4 separate regions of the Homo sapiens genome follow, and all the other regions are linked to region 2. The links are contacts of gene promoters, found by promoter capture Hi-C in blood cells and fetal thymus (Javierre and others, 2016). All regions are on one chromosome and are shown on one strand. Each heading gives the region's core, a stretch centred on a gene start or on the middle of the fragment in contact. The rest is flanking DNA. Distances are from core to core; before and after follow the strand shown.

The links. The method cuts DNA at HindIII sites, captures the fragments that hold promoters and counts their contacts. A CHiCAGO score of 5 or more calls a contact.
Region 1: a fragment that was not itself captured here is called in contact with the fragment with the promoter of NUMA1-AS1 in region 2 in 1 of 17 cell types (erythroblasts); the score reaches 5.6 in erythroblasts.
Region 3: a fragment that was not itself captured here is called in contact with the fragment with the promoter of NUMA1-AS1 in region 2 in 2 of 17 cell types (erythroblasts and M1 macrophages); the score reaches 6.1 in erythroblasts.
Region 4: the fragment with the promoter of FOLR2 here is called in contact with the fragment with the promoter of NUMA1-AS1 in region 2 in 2 of 17 cell types (erythroblasts and neutrophils); the score reaches 6.3 in erythroblasts.

What each region holds. Positions count from the first base shown.
Region 1 is chr11:72,258,615-72,261,830 of GRCh38, forward strand. No RefSeq gene overlaps it. Among named protein-coding and RNA genes, the nearest start is that of PHOX2A, 16 kb to the left of the region's middle. The HindIII fragment of the contact is 1,643 bases long and covers 890-2,532 here.
Region 2 is chr11:72,012,909-72,015,907 of GRCh38, forward strand. NUMA1-AS1 (NUMA1 antisense RNA 1) reads left to right here and starts at 1,383. Exons shown (of 4, transcript NR_104178.2): 1 at 1,383-2,999. NUMA1 (nuclear mitotic apparatus protein 1) reads right to left here. Exons shown (of 27, transcript NM_006185.4): 15 at 1-2,999. RefSeq lists an enhancer at 2,037-2,784. The HindIII fragment of the contact is 6,447 bases long and covers 1-1,388 here.
Region 3 is chr11:72,194,014-72,197,342 of GRCh38, forward strand. FOLR1 (folate receptor alpha) reads left to right here. Exons shown (of 4, transcript NM_016729.3): 2 at 1,258-1,446; 3 at 1,599-1,734; 4 at 1,884-2,286. The coding sequence ends at 2,164. All of the region lies in intron 2 of FOLR1-AS1 (FOLR1 antisense RNA 1), which reads right to left. Among named protein-coding and RNA genes, the nearest start is that of FOLR1, 3.5 kb to the left of the region's middle. The HindIII fragment of the contact is 3,293 bases long and covers 121-3,329 here.
Region 4 is chr11:72,214,902-72,218,103 of GRCh38, forward strand. FOLR2 (folate receptor beta) reads left to right here and starts at 1,893. Exons shown (of 5, transcript NM_000803.5): 1 at 1,893-2,024. The HindIII fragment of the contact is 32,333 bases long and covers 1-3,202 here.

The DNA.
Region 1 (3,216 bases), core at 461-2,960, 250 kb after region 2:
GGTGTGGTTACTCTGATTGCCAGCTGCTCTGAGTGGTCTGACCTGCAGAGATCTTTGCTGGTTGATCATTTTGAGATCACTGAGTCCCTAGGATTAAAGAATGTAAGCAGTTCACTAAGATTCTAACTGATCTGTAAAACCCAAAACCCTCTGGAACTGGTGAAAAGGGGACCCACTTAAGACAATAGGATGGGGAATAATGGAGTTATGATCTCTCACTGAATTTCCTGTCCTGGGTTTGTTCACAGACTTACAGCCCCATGAATGGGGTGAAGGCAAGTTTACTTAAGCAAGATTTAGAAATACCTCCTTATATATTTCTTTCTTTCTTTCTTTCTTTCTTTCTTTCTTTCTTTCTTTCTTTCTTTTTTTTTTTTTTTTTTTTTTTTTACAGAGTCTCACTCTGTCACCCAGGCTGGAGTGCAGTGGCATGATTCTGGCTCACTGCAACCTCCACCTCCCGGGTTCAAGCAATTGTCTTGCCTCGGCCTCCTGAGTAGCTGGGATTACAAGTGCCCACCACCATGCCCGGCTAATTTTTGTGTTTTTAGTAGAGACAGGGCTTCATCATGTTGGCCAGGCTGGTCTAGAAATCCTGACCTCAAGTGATCTGCCCACCTCGGCCTCCCAAAGTGCTGGGATTGCAGGTATGAGCCACAGTGCCCTGCCTCCCTTTGTATTCCTTATAGGGTCCCCCAGAAAGGCCTGTGGTCATTTTCCAGGATAGCTATTGTAGGTTTAATTGTGTCTCCTCCAAAAGATATGTTGAAGTTCTGGTCCCCAGTACCTGTGAAATAGGTGACCTTATTTTGAAATAGTTTATTTGCAATCAGGTTAAGGTGAGGTCATACTGGTTTAGCCCTAATCCAATGATGGTCTCCTTAGAAGAAGCTTTTTTTTCTTTTCTTTTCTTTCTTTTTCTAACCTTATAAAAAAGGAGAAATTTGGACACAGAGGGAACACCATGTGAAGATGGAGAATAAATTTCCGTGGTTTCAGGCTACCTTGTGTATAATATTTTGTTATGGCAGCCCTAGGAAACAGATCCAGTAACTGTGACCTTGGGAGTGTTGGACATTGGCTCTAATGCTAATCTTTGGAGTTGTAGTTGGCACAGTGATTAATGAATCACTCAGAGTGAATGAAGGCTTATGGAGTCAAGTGATAAATTGACTTTTGATTTTTTTTCTGAGACAGGGTCTTGCTATGTTGCCCAGGGTGGAGTGCAGTGGCATGATCATAACCCACTACAGCCTCGAACTCCTGTACTGAAGCCATCCCCTTGTCTCAGCCTCCTGATTAGCTGGAACTACAGGCGTGTGCCACCATGGCTAGCTACCTTTTTTTTTTCTTTTTAAATTTTTGTAAAGACAGGGATCTCACCATGTTGCCTAGGCTGGTCTCGAACTCTGGGCTCAAGTGATCCTCCTGCCTTGGCCTCCCAAAGTGCTAGGATTGCAGGTGTGAGCCACTGTGCCTGGCTGCAACTTTTGATTTCAGTCTACCTTACTATCATCCCAGTTCTTAAACCCATTTTCCCATCATTTCTTTAGTTCCCGAGTGTATAGTTAGACTAGATGCATTCAGCAAATGGCAGAATCCCCATGTTTCTCCAGTCCATGGAATATGTGGTTGAAAGGGTCGAGCAAAAGCACTAAACCTTCCTCCCTATTTAAATTATAAACAAAGAGCAATAATGCCTTGCTGGGGGAAATGCGAGATTAGTGCAACCATCAAAGATCTGAAAATTTAGAGGTGAAAATTCTTGTTACTTATCCATTTAATTTACCTGTTTGGCTCACAAAGAAGTCAGAAGGGCCTTTGAGAATGACGGTGGATGATTGAAAGTTTAAGACAGGTGATGACTCCAGTTGCATTGCTCTTGCAGATGTGGTTTCTCCACTAGAGCAAATCAACAGCGCCTCTCCCACCTGCGATGAAGTTATTAACTTGCAAATGTTTTTTCCCTATTTCAATAAGCAAAGAAGACCAGAGGTAATTTTGTTTATCCTGGCAGGGGCAGAAGTACATTTTCACTATTTTGCTTCAAGAACTATGTCAGCTCTCTGCCTCTGTGCCACAATTTAGTACACAGGGACTTTGATAATCTTAAAGTCCCATAACACGTTACACTGGCGAACTATGATTATGATAAAGTGCTGATAAATCCTAAATAGCAGAAAGTACTCGGTACCCTGAATGCCTTAATGAGTTGTTGTCGTCAGCGTTTTGGATTTAAGCCATTCTAGTAGGTACATAGTGATATCTCATTTATTGTTTTAATTTGCAATTCCCTGATGACATAATGTTGAGCATCTTTCATGTATTTATTTGCTGTCTGCACATATCCTTTGGTGAGGTGTCTGTTCCTATCTTTTGCTAATTTTTAAATCGGGTGATTGTTTCTTTATTGTCAAGTTTGAAAAGTTCTTGTATATTTTGGACACCAGTCCTTTATATGTGTTTTACAAAGATTTTATCCCAGTTCGTGGTTTGTCTTCATTCTCTCAAAAGCATCTTTTGCAGAATAGAAGCTTTTAATTTTAGTAAAGTCTAACATATGTTTCTTCTTTCATGAATTCTGCTTTTGGTGTTGTATTAAAAAAAATCACCGTCTTCATTTATATAGTAGTAAGTAAACTTTAAGAATAGTAAAATAAATAAATAAGTACATAGAAAATCGTCACCAAACCCAAGGTCATCTAGATTTTGTCTTATGTTATCTTCTAGGAGTTTTATAGTTTTGCATTCAATTTTTTTTTTTTTTTTTTGAGACGGAGTCTTGCTTTGTCTCCAGGCTGGGGTGCAGTGGCGTGATCTCAGCTCACTGCAACCTTTGCCTACCAGGTTCAAGCAATTCTGCCTCAGCCATCTGAGTAGCTGGGACTACAGTTGCACACCGCCACACCCAGCTAATTTTTGTATTTTGAGTAGAGATGGGGTTTCATCATATTGGCCAGGGTGGTCTTGATTTCCTGACTTCGTGATCCTCCTGCCTCGGCCTCCCAAAGTGCTGGGATTACAGGCATGAACCACTACGCCCAGCTAATTTTGTATTTTTAGTAGAGACGGGGTTTCTCCATGTTGGTCAGGCTGGTCTCGAACTCCCAACCTCAGGTGATCCGCCCGCCTCGGCCTCCCAAAGTGCTGGGATTACAGGTGTGAGCTACCACGCCCAGTGTCCCATTTTTTAAAATTGTTATTAAAAAAATTTTT
Region 2 (2,999 bases), core at 133-2,632:
TCTGCCTCTCTTCCTGGAACCGCTGCCTCTCCTCCAGGACCTTGACCTTGGCACCCTCATACTTGGCAGTCATCACCTCCAGCTCCCGGGCAGTGCTCTGTGCTTCTCGCTGCACCTCAGCCAGACGGGTCTCAGCATCAGCACGTACGGCTGCCAACTCTTGGACATACTTCTCCCGGGCCTGGTCCAACTCCACTTCCAGAAACTGCCGGCCAAGGTTGGCCCGCTCACCCAGCCCCCGGTTCTCCTCTGCCAGCAGGCCATGCGCCTTCTTCAGCATGCTCAGCTGCTCTGCATAGCTGGCCTTCTCTGCCCGCAGCTGCTGAGCTGTTCGCTCCTGCTCTGCCACCTTCTGCCGCAGAGGAATCAGCTCCCCAAGCTCCCGCTGGGCCCGCAGCAGCTCTGCCCGCAGTCCCCCAGCGGCCTGCTTGCTCTGCTCCAGCTCCTCACGGTGGCGTTTCTCGGCAGCGGCCTGCTCGGCCTGCAGCTGCTGGCAGAGGTGCTTAGCTGGCAGCAGCTCACTCACCAGGGCCTGTGTGCTGGTGTGCTCGAGCTGCAGGGTGGAGAGGGCCTGCTCTTTCTGGAAGAACTTCTCCTGCCACGCCTTCAATTCTTGGCCCAGCTCCTCCGCACGCTCAGCCTGTGAGGTCAGCTCCTGCCGCAGGTTCTCTGAAGCCACCCGCTGTTTCTCAGCCTCCTCCCGGAGGCTCTGCACCTCCTCCCGCAGAGCAGAGCTGCGTTCTGCAGCTCTGGCACTGTTGCTGGCTGTCTCTGCCTGCAGCAGGCGCAGCCTCTCCTCCAGCTTCTGGCTCTTCTCTGACTCGGCCATCACCAGCCGCTTCAACTCCTTGCTCTCCCCCTCCTTCTCCAGGACCTGGCGATTCAGGATGGACACCTCCTCCTCCAAGCTGCTGATGAGGCTATTTTTCCTCTCAGCCTCTTGCCGGCCCCGGGCCACCTGGGCCTTCCACTCATCTTCAGCCTTGCTGTGGTCTTGTACCTTGGTGCGGAAGGCAGCCAACTCCCGTTGGGCCGAGGCTAAGGCACTCTGACTGTGCCCTAGCTCCTGGGCCTTCTCCTCTAACTGGCCCTGCAGAGTCTCCAGAGCACTGTCCCGCTCAGCCCGGGAGGCCCGCTCAGCCTCGAGGCTGCGTTCCAGGCTGTCAGCCTGCTCCTGCTGCTTCTGGCATTGCTGTTCCAGCTTGCTCACCTCTGCCCGCAGTGCCTCCAGCTTGGGGCCTGTTGGCTCTGTCCTGCCAGCAGCCTCAGATTGGGCTCCTGAGCCAGATGCGTGCTCCTTTTCTTTCTTAGCCAGCTGTTCCTTCAGTTGCTTCACGGTTTGCCGAAGTTCCTCCAGCTCTTTTATCTGGGCTGCCTCCAGACCACGAAGCTTGGCCAACTCCTGGTCCTTGCCTTCCTTTTCCGTCAGGGCATGAGCCAGTGCCTCTTGCAGGGTAGCGAACTCCACACGCTGCTCGTTGAGGGCGTTCTGCAGCCGCATCTCAAGCTCTGCTCTGGCCGCCTTCTCCAGGGCAAGGTCAGCCTGGGCACGGCCCCGCTCCTGGGTCAGCCGCGCCACCTCCCTTTCCTGCTGCCCACGCTCCTCCTGCTGCTGCCCCTGGCTCTCCATCAGCGCGGCCCGCAGCCGTTCCAGCTCATTGCCCATCTGCTCTGCCTCCCGCTCCATAGCCTGCAGCGCTGCCTGTGTGCTGCAGAACTGGCGTCCCTGTTGCTCTTCCAGCCACTCGGGCTGTCTGTCTCCTGCCCTCGCAGGCTCCTTGACTAACTCCCGGGAGGCTGTTTCCTGCTGCTCACCTGCCTTGCGCACCAAGGTCTCCAAGCGGGCCACCTCTTTGCTGGTGGCAGCCATCTTTTCCTGCAGAGTGGAGAGGTCATCTGCAAGCTTCTGGGCCCTGACTTCCTTCTCTTGGACCTGCTGGAGTGCTCTGGCCAGGTTGGCATGGAGCTCAGCTAGTTCGTTCTGCTGCCGGCTTATCTGGAGCTCGCTGTGGGATTCTATGCCTGCCACCTTCTCCTTTGCCTCCTGCAGCTCCTGGCGGGCCTTCTCACATTCCTCCTTCAAAGTCATCAGCTGTTCCTGGAACATGGCGCCATACTGTGCCTCCTCTTGCTGGCTATCCTCATACCGCTCACGCCAGGCAGCTACTTCTTTGACGAGCTGCTCACACTCACTCTCAGCTGTGTGCTGGGCAGCCATGGCCTCTGCCAGCTCCCGCCGCAGGACTTCAGTCTCAGCCTGATGGGCCTCCCCAAGCTGCTGTAATCGAGCCTCCAGCCCCTTGCGCCCAGCCCTCTCTTCTTCCAGCTCCTTTCGTTCCCGCTTATGCTGCTCCACCAGGCTTCGGGTCTCTGCCTTCAGCTCAGAGATACAACGCTGCTGCTCTTCCAGGGCATCTGCAGCCCTGCGCTTCTCCTCTTCAAGGCTGCCCTTGGTGACCTTCAAGGACTCTTTGAGGGCCTGGAGCTGCTCCTGGAGCTGGTCCTTCTCCTGGGCCACCCTTTCTTTCTCAGTTGCTTTTTGCTGCTCAGACCGCAGCTGCAACTCTAGCTCTGCAACCTGGGCCTGGGCCTCATGCTGTTCCTGGCGGGCTGTCTCAACACAGGCCTGGAGTTCCTCCACCTTCCGGCTCAGCTCTGCCTTCTCCCGCTGGGCCTGTGTCACTGAGGTCTGGGCACTGTCCCGGGCTTCATTAGCCACCTGAAGTTGCTGCTGCAGAATCTCCAGCTTGGCAGCCTTCTCCTTCTCCAGTGCCTCCAGCTGCTTGAGAGCCGCATCCCGCTCCCTTAAGGAGGCCTCTCGCTCCTCTGCAGCAGTGGCCAGTTGCTGGGCATGGTCCTGCCTAGTTGCCTCCTGCTTCTCCGCTACCTCCTTCAACTGCTGCTCCTTCTGCTTCAGGCTACTGCTTAGCTGCTCCACCTGGTGGCGGAGGCCCTGGGAGGCCTGTTCTTGCTGTTGGAGGGTCTGTGCTAGCTGGGCC
Region 3 (3,329 bases), core at 517-3,016, 180 kb after region 2:
CTTAAGTGATCTGTCCACCTCCACCTCCCAAAGTGCTGGGATTACAGGCACTATGTGAGCCACTGTGCCGGCCCACATTTTAATATTTAGCTTGTCAGCCTTAAGTAATGAGATTCAGGAAGCTTGAGGATAGGCACACAGGAGCATAGTTTCAAGTTGTCCTGAATTTTGCAGCCATCACAAGTTAGTTTTTAAGGAAAAAGATTAGTTCCTAAGTTGTTTCTCAATAACTTATAATAAAATAACATCCACAATTGATTGGCTATACATTGTTTTTTTGTATCACAAATTCCACAAACAGATAATGGGTGAGGCAGCTAGTCAGGGACAAAACACTTCCCAAGTAGCTGGGATTACAGGTGTCCGCCACCACACTTGGCTAGTTTTTTGTTTGTTTATTTTTTGAGATGGAGTCTTGCTCTGTCGCCCAGGCTGGAGTGCAGTGGCATGATCTCGGCTCACTGCAAGCTCCACCTGCCGGGTTCACACCATTCTCCTGCCTCAGCCTCCCAAGTAGCTGGGACTACAGGTGCCAGCCACCACGCCCGGCTAATTTTTTGTATTTTTAGTAGAGACGGGGTTTCACCATGTTGGCCAGGATGGTCTTGATCTCTTAGCCTCGTGATCCACCCGCCTCGGCCTCCCAAAATGCTGGGATTACAGGCGTGAGCCACCGCACCCGGCCTAATTTTTATATTTTTAGTAGAGACGGGGTTTCACCATGTTGGCCAGGCTGGTCTCAAACTCTTGATCTCAGGTGATCCACCTGCCTTGGCCTCCCAAAGTGCTGGGATTACACAAGTAAGCCACTGCACCCAGCCTGGGGTTACAATTTAAATTGCTTTTTTACCTTCAAATCTTTGACACCTCAGTGAGGCTTAATCTGACCGCACTATTACACTACAAGTCCCCATCCGTCTCTGCTTAATTTTTGTCCAAAGCAAAAATCAGGTGATGTGTTCATTGTTGTAACCCCAGTTTCTACAAAAGTACCTGGGTGAGAGTAAGTAGGATCTCAATAAAGGTTGAATTAACAAATTTTGTAATGACTGCAACTCCAGCAGGAGCTCCCTTTTGGGCTCCCACTGTCTCTGACGGCCCTCTCCCCTAAAGAGGTCCCAATAGCAAGTATTTTCCTGGGTGACTTCCAGTGGGCTGGGGAATCAAGGACTAAGAGGGGAGACACTGCATGTGGAATATTCTGGCTGTGCTGGCTGTGCTGGCTGTGGACTGAGTCCTCTGTCTTCCCCCATCCAGTGTCGACCCTGGAGGAAGAATGCCTGCTGTTCTACCAACACCAGCCAGGAAGCCCATAAGGATGTTTCCTACCTATATAGATTCAACTGGAACCACTGTGGAGAGATGGCACCTGCCTGCAAACGGCATTTCATCCAGGACACCTGCCTCTACGAGTGCTCCCCCAACTTGGGGCCCTGGATCCAGCAGGTATGCATGGCTTCCTGCAGGTACAAGACCTAGCGGAGCAGCTGAGCTTTCCAGGCATCTCTGCAGGCTGCAACCCCAGCTCCAGTTCTATTCGGGGCTGAGTTGCTGGGATTCTTGAACCTGAGCCCTTCTTTTGTATCAAAATCACCCAGGTGGATCAGAGCTGGCGCAAAGAGCGGGTACTGAACGTGCCCCTGTGCAAAGAGGACTGTGAGCAATGGTGGGAAGATTGTCGCACCTCCTACACCTGCAAGAGCAACTGGCACAAGGGCTGGAACTGGACTTCAGGTGAGGGCTGGGGTGGGCAGGAATGGAGGGATTTGGAAGTGGAGGTGTGTGGGTGTGGAACAGGTATGTGACAATTTGGAGTTGTAGGGCTGGCAGACCTCAAGATAGTTCCGGGCCCAGTGGCTAAAGGTCTTCCCTCCTCTCTACAGGGTTTAACAAGTGCGCAGTGGGAGCTGCCTGCCAACCTTTCCATTTCTACTTCCCCACACCCACTGTTCTGTGCAATGAAATCTGGACTCACTCCTACAAGGTCAGCAACTACAGCCGAGGGAGTGGCCGCTGCATCCAGATGTGGTTCGACCCAGCCCAGGGCAACCCCAATGAGGAGGTGGCGAGGTTCTATGCTGCAGCCATGAGTGGGGCTGGGCCCTGGGCAGCCTGGCCTTTCCTGCTTAGCCTGGCCCTAATGCTGCTGTGGCTGCTCAGCTGACCTCCTTTTACCTTCTGATACCTGGAAATCCCTGCCCTGTTCAGCCCCACAGCTCCCAACTATTTGGTTCCTGCTCCATGGTCGGGCCTCTGACAGCCACTTTGAATAAACCAGACACCGCACATGTGTCTTGAGAATTATTTGGATATGAATGGGAACGTGACTGTTTTGTTTTCCAATTCCCATTGATTGAAACCAGTGAGACTGGGCCAATTCCTAGCTCTGACAGTTGCTATAAACTAGCCTGATACTTAACTATTTTTCTAACTTAGGAGACATTCGTAGCTCTCAATTTCATTTTTTACTATTGCTCCAATCTAGAGCCAAGCCCAGGAATTTTTCATTTGTTTGTTTTGAGACAGGGTCTCACCCAGGAATATTTTGTTTGTTTTGAGACAGGATCTCACTCTGTCACCAGGCTGGAGTGCAGTGGCATGACCTTGATTCACTGTAACATCTGCCTCCTGGGCTCAAGTGATCCTCCCACCTCAGCCTCTCAACTTGAGACTGCAACCATGTGCCACCACACCTGGCTAATTTTTTTTTTTTTTTTGAGATGGAGTTTCGCTCTTGTTGCCCAGGCTGGAGTGCAATGGCATGATCTTGGCCCACTGCAACCTCCTCCTCCCAAGTTCAAGTGATTCTCTTGCCTCAGCCTCCAGAGTAGCTGGGATTATAGGCATGCACCACCATGCCCGGCTGATTTTGTATTTTTAGTAGAGACAGGGTTTCTCCATGTTGGTCAGGCTGGTCTTGAACTCCCGACCTCAAGTGATCCGCCTGCCTTGGCCTCCCAAAGTGCTGGGATTACAGGCGTGAGCCACTGCGCCCAGCCCCACCTGGCTAATTGTTACATTTTTTTATAAAGAGGAGATCTTGGTATGTCGTCCAGGCTGATCTCAAACTCCTGGCCTGAAGCAAACCTTTCATCTCAGACTTCAAAAGTACTGGGATTACAACCGTGAGCCACCACACCCAGCGCAGTCTCAGCTCACTGCAACCTCTGCCTCCCACATTCAAGCAATTCTGCCTCAGCCTCCCGAGTACCTGGGACTATAGGTGTGGGCCACCATGCCTGGCTAATTTTTGTATTTTTATTAGAGATGGGGTTTCGCCATGTTGGCCAAGCTGGTCTGGAACTCCTAACCTCAGGTGAACCACCCAC
Region 4 (3,202 bases), core at 643-3,142, 200 kb after region 2:
ACAGGCAACATACAGAATGGGAGAAAATATTTGCAAATCATATACCTGATAAAGGGTGAATTCAGAATACATAAAAGAATACTACAACTCAACAAAAAGAAAACTCAATTTTAAAAATAGGCAAATGACTTGAATAGACATTTCTCCAAAGAAGATATACAAATGGCTAATAAGCATGGAAAAAGATGCTCATTATCACTAATTATTAGAGAAATGTACATCAAAGTCACAATGAGATATCGCCTCACACTCAACATGATGGCTACTATAAACCCAAAACTCCCAAAACAGGAAATAAGTGTTGATGAGGATGTGGAGAAATTGGAACCTTTGTGCACTGCTGATGGAAATGTAAAATGGTGTGGCCACTACAGAAAACAGTGTGGCAGTTCTTCAAAAATTAAATATAGACTTACCATATAATCCTGCAATTTCACTTCTGGATATATACCAAAAAGAATTGAAAGAAAGGTCTTAAAGACATATTTATATGCCCATTTTCATAGCAGTATTCTTCATGATAGCCAAAAGTGGAAGCAACCCAAAGGTCCATTGATAGATGAATAAATAAAGAAAATGTGGTACATACATACAATGAAATATTACCCAGCCTTAAAAAGGAATGAAATTCGGATACACCTTACAACATGGACAAATCTTGGGGACATTACGAAAAGCCAGTCACGAAAAGACAAATATTGCATGATTCCACTTGGACAAGGAACTTACAGTACAGTAGCCCAAATCACAGAGACGGAAAATAGAATGGTGGTTGGCGGGGGCTAGGGAAAGTGAAAGTGGGGAATCGTTTAATGGATATGGAGTCTCAGTTTTGCAGGATGAAAAGTTTCCAAGATTGATTGCAAACAGTATGACTATATTTGACACTGCTGAACTGTACCGTTAGAAATGGTTAAGATGGCACATTGTATGTCACGTGTGTTTTTACCACAATTTTTAAAAGGCCATCAAAAATTGCTTAATTATGTTTTCAGAAATGCCAGATGGTAATATATTGCTGTTTAACATATTTGAGACAATTTTAATTTTTCTGTGACCCTTGACTTCTATACCTCAACTTTTTTTTTTTTTTTTTTTTTTTTTTGAGATGAAGTCTCGCTCTGTCGCCCAGGCTGGAGTGTAGTGGTGCGATCTCAGCTCACTGCAACCTCTGCCTCTCGGGTTCAAACAATTCTTGTGCCTCAGCCTCCCAAGTAGCTGGGATTACAGTGCACGCACGGCACCACACCCCACTAATTTTTGTATTTTTAGTAGAGACAGGGTTTTACCATGTTGTCCAGGGTAGTCTCGAACTTCTGACCTCAGTGATCTGTCTGCCTCAGCCTCCCAAAGTGCTGGGATTACTGACGTGAGCCACCATGCCCAGCCTATACCTCAACTTCTACCTATGTCCACCTGGCTGCCCATAAATTAACCCAATAGCTGTCACTTAAGCCTACTCAGTATGTGCCAGGCTTTTCCCTATACAATTGTGAACAATTTTCTAGTGAGCAAACTGAAGCTCAGTAAGGTCCAGTGACTTTTCCCAAGGTTGTGCAAGAGATGGAGCTCTCATTGGGTCCCATTGGCCTGACCCTAAAGCCTGGGTTCTTTTCCACCAGACCTAATCTCCATCGAGCTGGCCTTATCCTAAGAACCACTTGGGGTATCTATAAAATCCAGATGCCCCCTGGTGATGAGCAATTCTCTAGATTTTGATGAAAGTTGAATGTGTGGATGCTGGAATGAGTAAATTAACAAGTAAGGAGATGAATGCAAGCAGGAATGACTAAATGGACAGACTCAGGGAGCCTTGAAGAGGGTGGGGTCTGGAAGGGAAGGAAGAGAGGAAGGAGAATAGCTAAGTAGGGAGATTTCACTCAGTGCTTACCAGAGCGCGTTGTCTACCCTGTACCGAAGACAGAGGCTGTGGGGACAGCCTAGGGGCCTGGATCTATTGCCTACTTAGAGAGAGGCCAACTCAGACACAGCCGTGTATGCTCCCAGCAGCAACGGAGGTTCAGGCAAGATGCCCGAAGGAGGGAAGGGTGACAAGGGCAGTGGGGAGACTTGGAGAGTTTGTGCAGAGGGGAGGAACACACCTTTCTTTCTGTATTGTATTGTATTGTATTGTATTTTTTGAGACAGAGTCTCGCTCTGTCACCCAGGCTGGAGTGCAGTGGCACGATCTTGGCTCACTGCAACCTCTGCCTCCTGGGTTCAAGTGATTCTCCTGCCTCAGCCTCCTGAGTAGCTGGGATTACAGGTGCCCACCACCTCGCCTGGCTAATTTTTGTATTTTTAGTAGAGACGGGGTTTCATCATGTTGGTCAGGCTGGTCTCGAACTCTTGACCTCAGGATCCACCCACCTCGGCCTCCCAAAGTGCTGGGATTACAGGCGTGAGCCACTGTGCCCGGCCACATCTTTCTTTAGAAAGATCATGCTGGCTCCTGTGGGGAAGGCAACTTGAAGGGGAAGAAATTGGAAGAGGGAAGACTTGACACTAAACATAGAGCCATGGTCAGTAAGTTTTTGGAGGGACCTTTACCAGAGAGGGAGAGGAAGCAGTATCCATTATCCACTCTTTAGTGACAGAGCCCAAAGGAACAGCTCTGTAATGGCTGGGGGTGGGGGCAAGGGCAGCAATGAACAGAGGAGGCGAGGGCTGCTCCTGTTGTTGAGTGCCTTCCAGGACACTAAGTGCTGGTCTGGCTGCTCCAACATGGGAAACTTTCATGTTGTCTCTCAGATCTAAGGGTCTCTCTGCATTTTTAAAAAAATTATTTTGAATTTTTTAAACTTCTATCGTTTTTCAGGTGGTTTTGGTTGCATAGATAAGTTCTTTAGTGGTGATTTCTGAATTTTAGTGCACCAGTCACCGGAGCAGTGTACACTGTACTCAGTATATAGTCTTTTATTCCTCACCCCCTCCTCACCTTGCCCCACCCCCAGTCTATATCATTCTCATCTGCATTTGTTTTTTGAGAGGTAGGGTGAGGTCTGCTGCATTAGCCCAGAGACAGCTGAGGAGGCTGGAAAGGAAAATGGCTTTCAGAGAATAGGGAAGGAAAAAGTCTGAGGAAGCAAAACTACTTAAAAAACACTGCTCTTTCCATTTCCGTATCATTTAACCAAACACCATCCTGTGGGTTCTGTCACTTGATCCTCATGCTGATCTGAGAACTCGGCAGAGCTGGGTC